Linked DNA regions of Homo sapiens: region 2 is linked to region 1. The links are contacts of gene promoters, found by promoter capture Hi-C in blood cells and fetal thymus (Javierre and others, 2016). All regions are on one chromosome and are shown on one strand. The core of a region is centred on a gene start or on the middle of the fragment in contact, and the rest is flanking DNA. Distances in the headings are between cores, read along the strand shown. Region 1 holds the start of CNTRL (centriolin). Region 2 overlaps STOM (stomatin).

The links. Contacts are between HindIII fragments. The CHiCAGO score rates a contact against its expected background, and 5 or more counts as called.
Region 2: a fragment that was not itself captured here is called in contact with the fragment with the promoter of CNTRL in region 1 in 1 of 17 cell types (neutrophils); the score reaches 5.2 in neutrophils.

Annotation. Positions count from the first base shown.
Region 1 is chr9:121,071,212-121,078,845 of GRCh38, forward strand. CNTRL (centriolin) reads left to right here and starts at 3,744. Exons shown (of 44, transcript NM_007018.6): 1 at 3,744-3,856. It also overlaps a transcript of C5 not described here. RefSeq lists enhancers at 916-965, 3,319-3,708 and silencers at 3,008-3,204, 3,829-3,888, 4,009-4,148. The HindIII fragment of the contact is 4,047 bases long and covers 670-4,716 here.
Region 2 is chr9:121,354,308-121,361,941 of GRCh38, forward strand. It overlaps STOM (stomatin), which reads right to left. Exons shown (of 7, transcript NM_004099.6): 2 at 1,746-1,849; 3 at 294-366. Among named protein-coding and RNA genes, the nearest start is that of STOM, 12 kb to the right of the region's middle. The HindIII fragment of the contact is 4,677 bases long and covers 531-5,207 here.

The DNA.
Region 1 (7,634 bases), core at 2,494-4,993:
GGGGAGGCTAAGGCACAAAAATTGTTTGAACCCTGGAGGTGGAGGTTGCAGTGAGCCATGATCGTGCTACTGCACTCCAGCCTGGGCAACAGAGTGAGACTCTGTCTCAAAAAAACAAAAACAAGAACAAAAAACAAAACACACCAACAAAAACAAAAAAAAATAAATGAATAAAAATTAAAAAAAAATCAGGCTGGGCATGCTGGCTCATGCGTGTAATCCCAGCACTTTGGGAGGTTGAGGTGGGAGGATCGCTTGAGCCCAGGAGTTTAAGACCAGCCTGGGCAACACAGCAAGACCCCATCTTTACAAAAAGTTTAAAAATTAGCTAGGTGTGGTGGTGCACACCTATAGACTGAGCTATTTGGGAGGCTGAGGGAGGAGGATCACTTGAGTCTGAGAAGTCAAGGCTGCAGTGAGTTATGATTGTGTCACTGCACTGAAACCTGGGTGACAGAGTGAGACCTTGTCTTAAAAAACAAAACAACAAAATCACACTGGCCAGTCACAGAAAGAAATGGCAATAATGAAAGTTGCCATCCCTGTCTGACAAACTAGTCTGTTTCTTCTCTAAAACAAATTCGCAAAATGATTAAACTGGGTTGCAAAAAGCTGAGGGAAGTTTAAACAGAATAGCTTTGCTATCATTTGGAAAAAAGACTGAGTAAAAGCTTGGTCACCCTGACGTGGCTAATATTTGTATTGTAAATGCAACTCAGAGTACATTCTTCATAATATCAGATAAAGAAAAATAGTGTGGAACGCGAGTTGTCTGCGTTACTTTCGTATTCTCACTTCTGCTTTGGAGAAGGAAGTTCTTTTAGCATGCTAAGAGAGACAGTTAATATTCAAATTAACTGGAGAAAGGTCTCTCCTTTGAAGTCTCTAGCTTCGTTAGAGATGATGCTAGACACCAGCAGAGGTCTGTATGAGGAGGAAAAGGGGGCAACATGGGACCGGTGAGTGCCCATCCGCGGCTAACTGGATACGGACTGAGAGATCACCCAAGAGAAAAGTGTTTTGCGCCACCCTCTGGACTTTTTATGTATATTTGATGGCTATTAATTGATACTAATATGATTGATAATGAACTACATCAGCACACCACGGCTTGATAATGGATCCCACGTGAATACCATTACAGACTTTGAGGGACACAGCAATGAGGTTACGCAATAAATCTAAGTTTCTGGGTACAAGAAACCGAAACGATGGGTGTCAAAACATATGCAAATAGAACTGAAACTCAGCAACGTACACATTCCAATCTAATAAATATCACCTGAACTTCGATTAAAAATGAATGTAATCTCGGCAGGGCGCGGTGGCTCACGCCTGTAATCCCAGCACTTTGGGAGGCCGAGGCGGGCGGATCACGTGAGGTCAGGAGATTGAGACCAGCCTGACCAACATGGTGAAACTCTGTTTCTACTAAAATACAAAAATTAGCTGGCCTTGGTGGTGCGTGCCTGTAATCCCAACTCCTCGGGAGGCTGAGGCAGGAGAATCGCTTGAACCCGGGAGGCGGAGGTTGCACTGAGCCGAGATCCTGCCACTGCACTCCAGCCTGGGTGACAGAGCCAGACTCTGTTCAAAAAATTAAAAAAAAAAAAAAAAAAAAGAAAAGAAAAAAAATGAATGTAATCTCCTCTTAAGTGGAGCTTTTCAAAAATTCTGCGTTTAAACTCCAAGGGCTTCGTTCTGTGTCGTGTAAATAGTTGGGGAGAGGACAGCACCATTCACTTAAATGTCAATGGGAATCACATTTAAGTAAAAGGAAAAGGAAATCAGTAAATCAAAGTAAATCAAAGACACATCTGCATCCCCATGTTTATTGCAGCTTATTCCCTGTTGGACGTCCCCTGAATTTCCTATAGAGGTGAAGCCATCTCTGCCTTAAGGAAAAATGAAGTGCCTAATACTGCTTATAATATGGTCCCTTTTCCAGATTTAGCTTCTCCACCCCAGATTTTTGCACAAGCCATACTGAACTACTTCATGTTTCCATACTCATGTTTTGTTCCAGCCACACTGAATTACTTAACATTCAGCACATTGCCAAGCTCTTTTCCCCCGCTTCCGGGGTTTGCACAAGTTGTTCCCTTTGCCAAGCAAATTCTTCCCCACCTCCCTACTCCTTGCCTAAACTCTTCTTTTGGGCGTAGAAAGAAGTATTGCTTCTGGGTAACCTTTGTCTAATAATGAAATATCTAAGACATATTGAGAACTTACTATGGGTCCCTCACTGTTCTAAGTTCTTTCACAGAGATTCACTTTTATAATTATCAGGAAAACTGGACTTTTTTTTTTTTTTTTTTTTTTTGAGATGGAGTCTCGCTCTGTCGTCCAGGCTGGAGTGCAGTGGCGCGATCTCGGCTCACTGCAACCTCCGCCTCCCGGGTTCAAGCGATCCTCCTGCAGCCTCTCAAGCAGCTGGGATGACAAGCGTGCGCCACCACGCCCGGGTAATTTTTGTATTTTTAGTAGAGACGGCGTTTCACCTTGTTGGCCAGGCTGATCTTGAATTCCTGACCTCAAGTGATCCTCCCACCTTGGTCTCCCAAAGTGCTGGGATTACAGGCATGAGCCACAGCGCCCGGCCAGGATTCACTTTTATAATTATCAGGAAAACTGTAGGAAGTGTTAATAGGTAAAAGGACCTCATTTCATAGATAAGGAAACTGAGACACAGAGAGAGAGGGAGTTTCTAAAAGTGTTATACAGGTGGCCTATAAACTCTGTAGTGAAGAAAGGAAATGAAGACAGGATAGAATGATCGCGAGAAAATGGTAAGAACAAGGGACTGGAAGACGCAAGGAAGTTTAGAAATACGCTGGCATAGGGGTCTTTTGAGCAGGCACGCTGCTAAGATGATAGGATTATAGTCAAGGATGGGGAGCGATTGCACTGGGGATTTCTGGAGCGGGTGCAGCCTCTGATGGTAACATGGTCCAGGGTATACCTTCAAAACGGGAGGCTACTGGAGTGAAAGGCGTCAATGGTGATAACACTTTAAAAAAAACTTCAGTGTTTCCCTAGCATCCAGCCCAGTATCTGCTAAATTCTTTAAAATATCTGTTGAATGCATGTCGTGAACGCCGTGCTCATGGGCAAGCCCCAGATGAAGCCTGTGCAAGTGCTTCTTGCTTTAACTCCCTTGTAGCAATCAGAGGAACATCCTCTGCCTAGGATTCCCAAGCTCCCTGAACCTCACGCGACAGCTGGAGCCCAGGCTGCGTCCGCTTTGAGGTTCATCCGAGCCTGGGCAGTTCGGTCCCTGGAGGGAATTCGCTTTAGATACGACTGTCAGAGAGAAGTGTGCTGATAAGAACACTCGCTCATAGCGCGCAAGCATCAGAAGTGGGGGAGGCCGGGGAGGCGCTGCGCCGGTGCCTCAGGCCGTCCTCGGACACAGGCCCTGAGAAGCGTGTCCGTGTTTCAGAGGGTGGCGGCGGCAGCTTTGTCTCAGCGAAGGCCACAGCACTGCGGGCAGCTGCCGCATGAAACCTCGGCTCCCCCTGACTCTGCACCCGACACTTCACCTGCAACGCAATCCGAAGGCGAAGGCACCGCATCCCGTCGGCCCCGCGCGGCCGGAAGCCTCGCGCCCAAGACTCCCCGGCATCCTAGCGCGCTGGCTGCAAAAGAGGCGGGAAACGCCTCCGCGTCCCTTCCAACAGTACCGGAGAGGGAGAGGGGCGTGGCTGAGACTAGCCCCGACCACGCGCGCGCGGCCCCTCGGCAACCGGCACAACACAACAAAATGGCTGCCGCGCCGCTGGGCCCCTGAGGAAAGAGCCCGAACTTCTCCCGCTCTACCTCAGCCTGCGGGACTGCTCGGCTCGGCTTCTAGGCGGTGAGCGTCAGACCTGGCCGAGCCCGTTCCCCGGCATCCGGCCCGAGCAGTGGGGGCCGGCGGCAAAGGCGGGAAGGCCCGGACCGGGCGTGGTGTGGGCCGGCTTGGGATGGATTCGGGGCGGGGGCGCGTGTCTGGGAATTGGGATTGGACGGGAAAGAGGGGAGGGCCCGGAACGGGCGTGGGGCGGTGGATGAAGGAGGGAGGTTTGGATGGGAAGAGGTGGGGACGGCGGGGGCGATTGGGGATGAAGAACCAGAGTGTGGGGAGGTGTGGAAGTTAGGGTGCGGCGCCCAGAAGGTTGTGGGTCCTGCCACCTGAGCTGAGGGGAGAGCTGGGATGTGCCAGCTGTCTGTGGGGAGTGAGCGGGAGAAAGGACAGTTTGGGCGTCCTGACGGGTTGTCACGGTATCGGACGGAGTACAGTGCGTGGAGAAAGATGACAGGATATGGGGACGAAATGCTAAAAGAAGGGGAAGAACAAACACTTCCGTTATATTCGTTAAGGGACTAGAGAATTTTGAAGCCAGACAAACTTGGGTTGAAGCCTCAATTCTGCCACCTTGTGTAACTTAACCAGGTCTGTGACCCTGGATATGTGTCTGAGCCTTCCTGATCATGTTTCCTCATTTGTCCAAATAATTGCGAATCATTTTTGGGTGTTCACTATTTGTCAGATCCAGTTTTAAGCACTTTGCACGTATTAACCTCATTTAGAATTTAAAATAACTTGTATGAGGTTATCATCCCCATTTAAAAAGTGATAGCACTGAGGACCAGAGAGGTTAAGTAATTTGCCTAAGATCACACAGTAAGTGGAAAATCAGAATTTGAACTCAGGCTGTTTCGTTCCAGAATCCAAGCTTTTAACTGTTCAGGTACATTGCCATTTGTAAATCAGGTTAATAATTCTGATCCTATACAGCTAAATCTTTGAGGATTTAAATTTGGTATTGTCTAAGTGTTTAGTACAGTCCTTCAGTCAACAAATATTTATTGTTTATAGAACAACAGACAAAACCTCTGCTCTCTTGTAGCTTATAGTCTAGAAGGAGAAACAGGCAACAACCAAGTAGTTTCACAAATAATGGTTATAAAATGCTATGAAGGAGACTGCTTGGTGCAGAGATCATGGGTAATAGGGAGATAAAATCTTCTGCATCTTGAGCTTAGATTCTAGCATGGTTCTTCCTACATAAAAGTTGCTCAATAAAATTGAATAATTAATGGAAAGAGATGGGAAGCTTGAGTTTTAGGGTATCTGAGCAGAAGAAGAGAGATGGGAGAGGGGATTCAGGCTTTTAATAGGATGGAGAAGGATACGGGGGCTAGAGTATTAGGATGGAAAGGCAAATAGGCAGGCAGTTGGGTTGGGATGAAGAGGAATGGATGGAGGTTTGAGTATTTTGTTTAGGGAGGGGAGTAATTGGAGGTCAGAGTATTGGAACGCATTAGGATGTCAGGGTATTTTCTGGGGTGAAGAGAGATGAGCAGCTTGGGAAGTCTGGATGGATAGAGAAATGTTGAGTCTGGGCACAGGAAAGAACCATAGAGAAATGGGGGAGACTATTACTGTGTTAGGGAACTGGGATAGAATTTGTGGGAAAATTGGCAATCAGAATGGGATAAAGAAGAATGGGAGGCAGAGGTGGGTGGGCAGCACAGAATGGGGGAATTGGCTTTGGAAAGAAAAATGGCTGGAGACTTTGCAGAGGAATCGGAATCAGGATATTTGAAAGGAGGAGAAGATTAAGGAGTAAAAGTATTTCAGTAGGTCAGAGGGTATGGGATGAAGTAGACTTGGAAAGTACTGAAATCCAATTAAAGGGCTAAGGAGAGGGATATGGGGGTTAATAAATGGGGATGGGTATTTGCATATTAGGGAGTCTGTAGAGAGACAGAAGGAGGTCTGCGTTATTTGGAGATCAGAGAAGATGGGAAGTTAGGAAGGTTAGGAAAGGCTGGATGGAGGTGGAGTTTGCAGTCTGTACTAAGCTGTGATGGACTGAATTGTTAGATCAGAGCAACTATCTGGGTTTATAGGTGGCAGGATGGGTAGTGTTTTGTTGCCTGGACGTAGGATTCTGATTATCATGTCATTCCAATGGCTTTCTCTTGCTCTGCAGACAGCCTTTAAAATACAACTGCAGCTCTGAACTTTATTTGCTTTTTTTTTCTCTTTATCCTGCTCCTTTACTCGCCCTAGCCTACCTCTCAGTTGTCTTCATTTTTCCATTGCTTGCTTGGTCTTTGTTCATGTGATTGCAAACAACATCCTAGATCAAACTACATCCTCATCTCTCCATTAAAATTATAATTCAGCATTTACCACCTCCAGGCAGTAGCCTAAGAAATAATGCCAGCCATTCTCAAACACTGTAAACCCCTAAGCCCACTTCACTGAGTTAGCTATTCTCTGAGACTGATTACGTCTATCTTGTTTCAGTGTCCAAGCTTTACAGAAGCTGTGGCAACCAAGGGTTTAAGTCTATGAATGAGTAAGCCTGACTTTTACTAATCAGGAGAGGTAATAAAGGACCTCATGATAGTCTGGTGAGACCTAAAGGGTCTTGATCATTAGGATGTAAAAACTACAGGCTGGGCACAGTGGCTCACACCTGTAATCCCAGCACTTTGGGAGGCTGAGGCAGGAGGATCACTTGAGCCCAGGAGTTCAAGACCAACCTGGGAACTATAGTGAGACCCCCCATCTCTACAAAAAATAAAAAATTAGCCAAGCGTGGTTATATGCGCCTGTAGTCCCAGCTACTCAGGAGGCTGAGGTAGGAGGATCACTTGAGCCCAGGAAGGCAAGGTTGCTGTGAGCCATGAGCATGCCACTACACTCCAGCCTGGGTGACAGAGAAAGACCTTGCCTCAGGGGGGAAAAAAACGCCAACTACGTACTATACATACTATAATAAATGTCATCTTTTAATCCATTTAATTAGGAATAAGATTTTACCTAAGCACATGCCTCTTAGCTTTTCTCAAATTTTAGAGTATTATCCTTATTTAGAAGGAGAATGCCAGTGCAGCTTAGCAGCATCAATAGTATTACTGAGGGCTGGGCATGGTGGCTGTAATCCCAGCACTTTGGGAGGCCGAGGTGGGTGGATCACCTGAGGTCAGAAGTTTGAGACCAGCCTGGCCAGCATGGCAAAACCTCATCTCTACTAAAAATAAAAAAAATTAGCCGGGCGTGGTGCTGTGCACCTGTAATCCCAGTTACTCAGTAGGTTGGGGCGGGACAATCACTTGAACCTGGGAGGCGGAGGTTATAGTGAGCCGAGATCACACCACCGCACTCCAGCCTGGGCAACAGAGCAGGACTCTGTCTCAAAAAAAGAAAAAAATAGTATTACTGAGACTACAGATTAAACTCAATTTCTCCCACTATACGCTCACAACATGATTCCGTAGGATTTTCCCCCACACATTAAGCAAGCAGTTAGTTCTGCAGTGGTGGGCACCACAGGACTGTCCTCTAGTTCAGTTCAATTCTGACACTGTCTACCTGGAGACAGCGTCACATCCCTAAGGTTGAAGGCTGGCTTACAAGACTGCCCCCAAGTTCTGATGCCAACTGTAAGCCTCAGTTTTACCTGTGCTTCTGACTGACCAGCTATAAATCAGAGTTCCCACAACTCCCTCCTTGGGTTTGATTAATTTGCTAGAGCAGCTCACAGAATTCAGGGAGCACTTACTTACATTTACTGGTTTATTATAAAAGATATTACAAAGGATATAGGTGAAAAGATGCATAGCGTAAGGCAGGT
Region 2 (7,634 bases), core at 1,619-4,118, 280 kb after region 1:
ACTCTTATCTAAGACAGAGTAGAAGAGGCCCTCATAAGGGAAATCACGTCAATAAAAAAATTTTAGACTGGGCACGGTGGCTCACGTCTGTAATCCTAGTGCTTTGGGAAGCTGGGGTGGGATGATTGCTTGAGGTCAGGAGTTCAAGGCTGCAGTGAGACATGAGCATGCCACTGTACTCCAGCCTGGGCGACGGAATGAAACCCTGTCTTTAAAAAAACAACTACCTAAAAATAAAAAAAATAAAAAGAACTTTAGTTTTCAGATAAACAATCTAGAATCCCAGTACTGACCAGGTCCTTTGGCTCCTCCTTGTAAAATGCGACCCAATCTAAAGATGATGGCTCTTTCATACTCTTTTATAATCTAGAATAAAAACATGAATAATAATTTAACATGAAGAGTACAAATATATACATGCATGGCTTCTTAAATATATATTTCTGCTCTAAACAGATTAGATGCCTCATCTTTTTTCTTTAGAACCAGATCATATCTATAAATCACATGTCCAATGTTTACCTTCTCAAAGCTTATTTATTATTTTCTTACTGATTACAAAAGCAATAGATATTCACTGTATAAATTTAGGAAGGACAGAATAGTATACAGAAACAAATCCATAACCTCACTCCTCAGCTGTTAACATTGTTATTCAGTTACTCATGCAGGCCAGGCACGGTGGCTCACGCCTGTAATTTCAGCATTTTGGAAGGCCGAGGTGGGCAGATCACGGAGGTTAGGAGTTCAAGACCAGCCTGGCCAACATGGTGAAACCCTGTTTCTACTAAAAATACAAAAATTATCCGGGTATGGTGGTGGGTGCCTATAATCCAAGCTACAAGGGAGGATGAGACAGGAGAATCACTTGAACCGAGATCGCACCACTGCACTCCAGCCTGGGCCACAAGGTGACTCCGTCTCAAAAAAAAAAAAAAAAAAATAATAATAATAATAATAATCCCAGCTACACGGGAGGCTGAGGCAGAAGAATCGCTTGAACCTGGGAGGCGGAGGTTGCAGTGAGCCGAGATCGCGCCACTGCACTCCAGCCTGGGCGACAGAGCAAGGCTCTGGCTCAAAAAAAAAAAAAAAAATTACTCATGCATTGTTAATTCAGAAACACAAAAAGCTGAAGTCTTCACAGTTTTTCTTCTGATTCCCTTAAGAATAAATTGATCTGAAAATGCTTGGAGCATATTTTATCTTCTTAGAAATATGTAAATAATAGTCATATATCAAAGTATTAACAACTTTGTAGAAAAAATAACGAGCACTGAGGGTATTTATGACGTGCCAGGCATTGTGATAAGTACATTTAGACACATAATTCATTTAATCCTCGCAACACTCCTATGAAGTAGGTACTGTTACTTTCTCCCATTTTACAGGTGAGGAAACAGCAAAGGTCACACAATAAACAGTAAAGCCAGCAGTCAAACCCTATCATCCTAACTCTGAAGAACTTGTTCTCTCAGAACCATCTCACATCCCTGGCCCCAGGAAATTTTTGATGGTGAAACTTACTTTAGCCCACGGGGAAGGGCAATGGCTGAAAAGAAGTTTTAAGGTTCCATTTTAATAGGTGGGTAGAAGAATAAATTTTCCAAAGAAAGATGAAGAAATAAGAATTATAAGAGAGAGAGACAGTCTGTTTCTTTCTCACATACACACAGGCACACACGAAGTAGGTTTATGGAGGTAGGAGTTGACCCCTTCCCAGAAGTGAATGAAATGTTCTTTACCTTTATGCACATCCATATTGAGATTGGGAAAGTTATAACGGTGAATAAGAATGAGAACGCCACCAAAATCCATCCGCAAGGTCCAAGGCCCTTACTGGGGCTGTCTGTTGAAAACAAAAAATATACAACTCTCACAACTGTTACTAGCATAATCACCACCATCTTCATCCTTACCATTCGCTGAATACCTATGTGCTTGGCACTACACCAGCTGTTTTACATGAATTTCCCCATCTAATCCTCATACAGCCCTGAAGTGTAAGTACTACTTTCCCTTATCTATGTGATGTCATAACACAAGTATATTTCCACATTACTCATTACTTTATTCAGCAAACATTTATTAAGCATCTACTATTTATTAGGCCCTCTGCTTTGTACTGAAATGATAACAATGAGTAAGACCCAATCCCAGCTTTCAGGGTTAAAGTTTAGTGGGAAAGTCAGACAAACACATAATTATAATATTAGGTGGTAAGTACAGATATAGAGTATCTGTTCAGAATATTTTGAAGACACAGAATGAGTTAACTCACGCAGTTAGGATGGAGGTGAGAAAGGAATGGGGCGGGGAGGTGATTCAGGTGGCTGTCAGAGGGTTTCCTGAAGGATGTAATAGTAAGAAAATATCGACGAAAAGAAAGTGGAGGCTGGGCGTCGTGGCTCACGCCTGTAATCCCAGCACTTTGGGAGGCCGAGACAGGTGGATCACTTGAGGTCAAGAGTTCAAGACCAGCCTGATCAACATGATAAAACCCCGTCTCTACTAAAAATACAAAAATTAGCTAGGCGTTGTGGTGAGTGCCTGTAATCCCAGCTACTGGGAAGGCTGAGGCAGGAGAATTGCATGAACCCAGGAGGTGGAGGTTGCAGTGAGCCAAGATTGTACCACTGCACTCCAGCCTGGGCAACAGAGGAAGAATCTGTCAAAAGAAAAGAAAAGAAAAGAAAAAGGAAAGAGGGAAAAGGCATTAGAGCATTTTAGCTAGGAGTACAGTACGAATAAAGGTGAAAACCATATGATATGAGTATAAAGTTGTTTAGAGCCTCTTTTTAAAAATTACACCTGTAAAATATTTCACTAGGTTTATGCAGCATCATTTATTGCCCACTTCCTGATTACACAGGTTGTTTGATTTCTTAGTGCTATAAACAGTGTTGTAGTGAACATCTTTGTACACGGCTTTCCTCTCACATTTCTAATTGTTTCCTGTTCCTGTAATATGCAACAGCTTTTCCGTCTGATTACAAAGGTAATAATGCAAAAAATTCACAGAAGTATAACAAAGGAGGGAAAAATTACTTTAAATTCAGAGGTATTTTGGTATATTCTTTGAAAATTTTCCTAGTGTACACACCATATTTTTAAATGATATATATATATATATTTATTTATTTATTTTTTGAGACAGAGTCTTGCTCTGTTGCCCAGGCTGGAGTGCAGCAGCACAGTCTCACCTCACTGCAACCTCCACCTCCTGGGATCATGCGATTCTCCCGTCTCAATCTCCTGAGTAGCTGGGATTACAGCCACCTGCCACCACACCCGGCTACTTTTTGTATTTAGTACAGATGGGGTTTCACCATGTTGGCCAGGCTGGCCTCGAACTCCTGACGTCAAGTGATCTGCCCACCATGGCCTTCCAAAGTGCTGGGATTACAGGCATAAGCCACTGCGCCCGGCCTTAAATCATATTTTTAAAAATAAATAAATAAATAAAATGTGTAACCTATTTTTCTTCCCTGTAGCTATTCTCTTTCACCTTCTTTTTTGGCCTTCGTGGTTATGCATTTGTGTTTTTGAAGTTACACTTGCATAAAGTTTAAAAAGTCAAACCATTCTATATGATTAGTACAAAAAAAGGGCATTCCCATGCTCACCTCTTCCAATTTCCTCCTCCTCAAAAACATTTGCTATTTTGACCATTTTGATATCTACCTCCATATTTCTAAATAATACGCTTTGCAGCTGGGTGCAGGGGTCACACCTGTAATCCCAGCACTTTGGGAGGCTGAGGAGGGAGGATCCCTTGAGCCCAGGGGTTTGAGACTAGCTTGGGCAACATAGGGAGACTCTGTCTCTACTTTAAAAAAAAAAAAAATAATAATAATAATATGCTTCTGCCAGGCATGGTGGCTCACGCCTGTAATCCCAGCACTTTGGGAGGCCGAGATGGGAGGATTGCTTGAGCTCAGGAGTTTGAGACCAGCATGGGCAACCTAGTGAGACTCCCATCTCTACTTGAAACTTCTTAAAAAAAATTAGCTGTGTGTGGTGGCACACACCTGTAGTCCCAGCTACTGAGGAGACTGAAATAGGGGGATTGCTTGAGCCTGGGGGTTCGTGGCTGCAGTGAGCTGTGATGTACCCCAGCCTGGACAACAAAGTGAGGAAAGAAAGAAAGAAAGAAAAGGAAGGAAGGAAGGAAGGAAATGCTTGTTTTGTTACTTCTTGCTTTTTCAGTTTTGAGGACTATTAACTTTCTACTACAGAAAAAGATTTAGTTCTCTTTCCTCCCCGTTACCCCCACCACATACTTATACCCAGCTTTCCAATATAATTACATCATAACTTCATTTAGATCAATATGAGATTTTATATTATGAATTTGTAAGTGCAATTTAAAGCTAAGCCAAGTAGTGAGGTATCACTGGTTTTCTCTTCCTGTACTATTTTTGTTTTTTCTGGAATTACTGTCTTATTTTTTCCCTTTGTTCGGTTTTCAACGTACTTATTGATCCAACCTTAAATCAATTGCCTAAATTTCCTCTCAAAGAGGTCAGGTATACTATCAATTTTATCTTCTGGAAGAATTCTCTCTCAGAGCCTTGTGTGGACTTCCTTCATCTGGTGTGCACGGCTATCATTCTGCAATTGCTTTCACTATCATCCTGGGAACTCCCATCACCTCAGTGTTGTGTTCCTATTTTCTGTATCAAGTGTCATCCTCATTTTTAGTTTGCTTTTGCTTTCTGTAGAGGACATAGGGACTGAGAAGGCCAAGGGATATAGTAGGTTTTCTTATCAACCACTTGGAAGGCTTCTGCTGTATTTTCAGGAGCTATTTTAATGACAGAGGGGAGAAAAGGTATGCCAGGCACATGTTACTGCTCAGAAGAAAGGGCAAAATGGCAGTAAGATGGGGCTTGGAATAAATAGGAGGCCAAGAAATAAGCAGAGTGTTCAGGCTGGGAACATGGGAGAAGAGAGACACATGTTGGCACCCAGGTCAAGTGCTCTAAAACATAGGATGAAAAATCAGAAATATAGTGAGTACTTGGGTTGTATGTGACTTGGTAGTTTTCTGATCCTGTGTTATAGTGTGAGGTAAATGTCTTCATGTATACTTAAATAAAATGATCTAAAGTAATCCTGGAGGTTTCTAAGTTATAATTTAGGGGGTACAGACATATTCATTGAGAGAATATTCAAAGCAGGGCCATAGTACTGTTTGTGAAGAAAGCTTTATCTAGTATTACCATGACTGATCATAGCAACAGTGGCTGTTTTGAGGGGTTGTGTATACCCCAGGCATTTTTTAAAGTTACTTTAGACATGTATCTCATTTAACTCTTACAACAGCCCTGTGAGGGTATTTTTAAATCCCTTTTACAAATGAGTTACCTAAAGCAACATTTAACTTTCCCAAAGTCACACAATGGAAGACCTGGGACTCAAATATGGGTCATCTTACTCCAAAGCCCGTGTTCCAAATTCACCCCTCAATAAAAAAAATCCTCATTAAGAATGTTTTCGTGGTTGAGCACTTTCTCAAGACAGTATCCAAACTGAAAAGCATGGCTGGAGTTGTGAGAATGAAATCTGATATTTTTACAGAGGAAGTCCTCTTAATGCCAGCCATGCCTATTTATAGCAAAAGATAGTTTCAAGGCTCTGTGACAGACACAGGTCTAGGTTTCCAGGGTGAAATGAATTCCAAACAAGGACAGACTGACCACAAATACTTATTTATCTGACAGCATTTGGTGCCTTTTCAAATACTGTCCAAGTCTCCCATAACATACTAGAGTAAAAACTCCCTGAGGGCAGGGATGTTGCTTATTCACTTTTATATTCTCAATGTCTAGCACAGTATCCTGCATAGTAGAATAGATATAAAATAAAATACTTCTCAGCAAGTTTTCTAGCTAGATATGTCTTTTTCTTTCCTTTGAATCTCGATAGCATTTTTTGAAAATTATCTTATGGCACTTATATCTTGTCTAATCTTTTATTTTTTATTTATTTTTAATTGACCTTCCAATGTAGGATTTTAATCTTTTATTATTTTTTAATCTAATATTTTAATTTCTTGTGCATTTATATCCCTTATTACACTGAGATTCCCTGAGAACGAGGAGTAACTATGTTTGAATTTCACTTCTGATACTTCTTAGTTGCATGATCTTTACCTCTTTGAACCTTAGTTTCCTTACCGGTGGAAAGTAAAGATTATTAGGCTGGCCTTGTAGAATACAGATAAAATGATCAGTAAATGTAGATGATAGTTTTCTGTAATCCTTCTATTTTACTTAAGTGTTTGTATCTTCATGAAGAAAAATGGGAAAATAGCATTTACCCTTTTTGATCAAAAGCCTCTTAAACAATTTAATTTGCCATTTGCTTCATACCTGCCCCCAGTCTGGCTAGGCTGGGACATTCAAAGACTCTCAAAAAGTTCATTTATGATCTACATGAGGACAAGCCAAAAAGTTCAGCCCAGTTTTTTTTGTGTCAGTTCCCATGTCACATTGTGTTTTTGAGAACCCCAGATGTGTATATGGGATTGCAAATCACCAGGAACAAGGAATTAAGTACACATTTTGAAAACTGGATTTGGTCTTTCACATATCAAATGCTTGGCTAGAAATAATCAGTGTATACACTGGGAAAATGGCACTTTCATATTTTTCTAATGACTTTAAAATGAAAGTATCCTACCTTCACCTCTCAAAATTCTTCCCCACCTGGTTACCCCTCAAAAAGGTACACAGTATCTAAGTTGGGAATGCATCACTAGAGTTCTGAGACTGAAATCTGATGTTTTTACAGAGGAAGCCCTCTTAATTCCAGCTGTGTCTATTTATAGCATGTTGTGCTATAAATGCATAGCTCAGAGGTGAGGCTTAAACTCTAGCAGGCTTATAAATGAACCCTTAGTCATCTACCACTTCTGGGAATAAGAGAAAAGAAATTCTCACTCACTAAAATCTCAGGAAATTCATTTCCTTCAAGTTTCCCATGTATTACTTTAGGACTGAATCCTTCCTACCAGTTTTATGGGGAAAGGGACAAATAGTGATATTTTGGTTAATACACTTGTGGACTTTTTTTTTTTTTTTTTTTTTTTTTTTAGATGTAATCTCACTCTGTCGCCCAGGCTGGAGTGCAGTGGCGAGATCTCGGCTCACTGCAAGCTCTGCCCCCTGGGTTCACGCCATTCTCTTGCCTCAGCCTCCCCAGTAGCTGGGACTACAGGTGCCCACCACCATGCCTGGCTAATTTTTTGTATTTTTAGTAGAGACGGAGTTTCACCGTGTTAGCCAGGATGGTCTTGATCTCCTGACCTCGTGATCCTCCGGCCTCGGCCTCCCAAAGTGCTGGGATTACAGGCGTGAGCCAATGCACCCGGCCACTTGTGGGTATTTTGCTGGTTGAGAATGTTCCTAAAAATTAGGGATCCTATGATACTTGGTTGTAAATACTACTTTGCCATAGTTTAGAGCAATGGTCCCCAACCTTTTTGGCACCAGGGACCAGTTTCGTGGAAGACAATTTTTCCACAGGAAAGGGTTGGGGAACATGGTTTTGGGATGAAACTGTTCCACCACAGATCATCAGACATTAGGTTCTCATAAGGAATACACAACCTAGATCCCTCATATGTG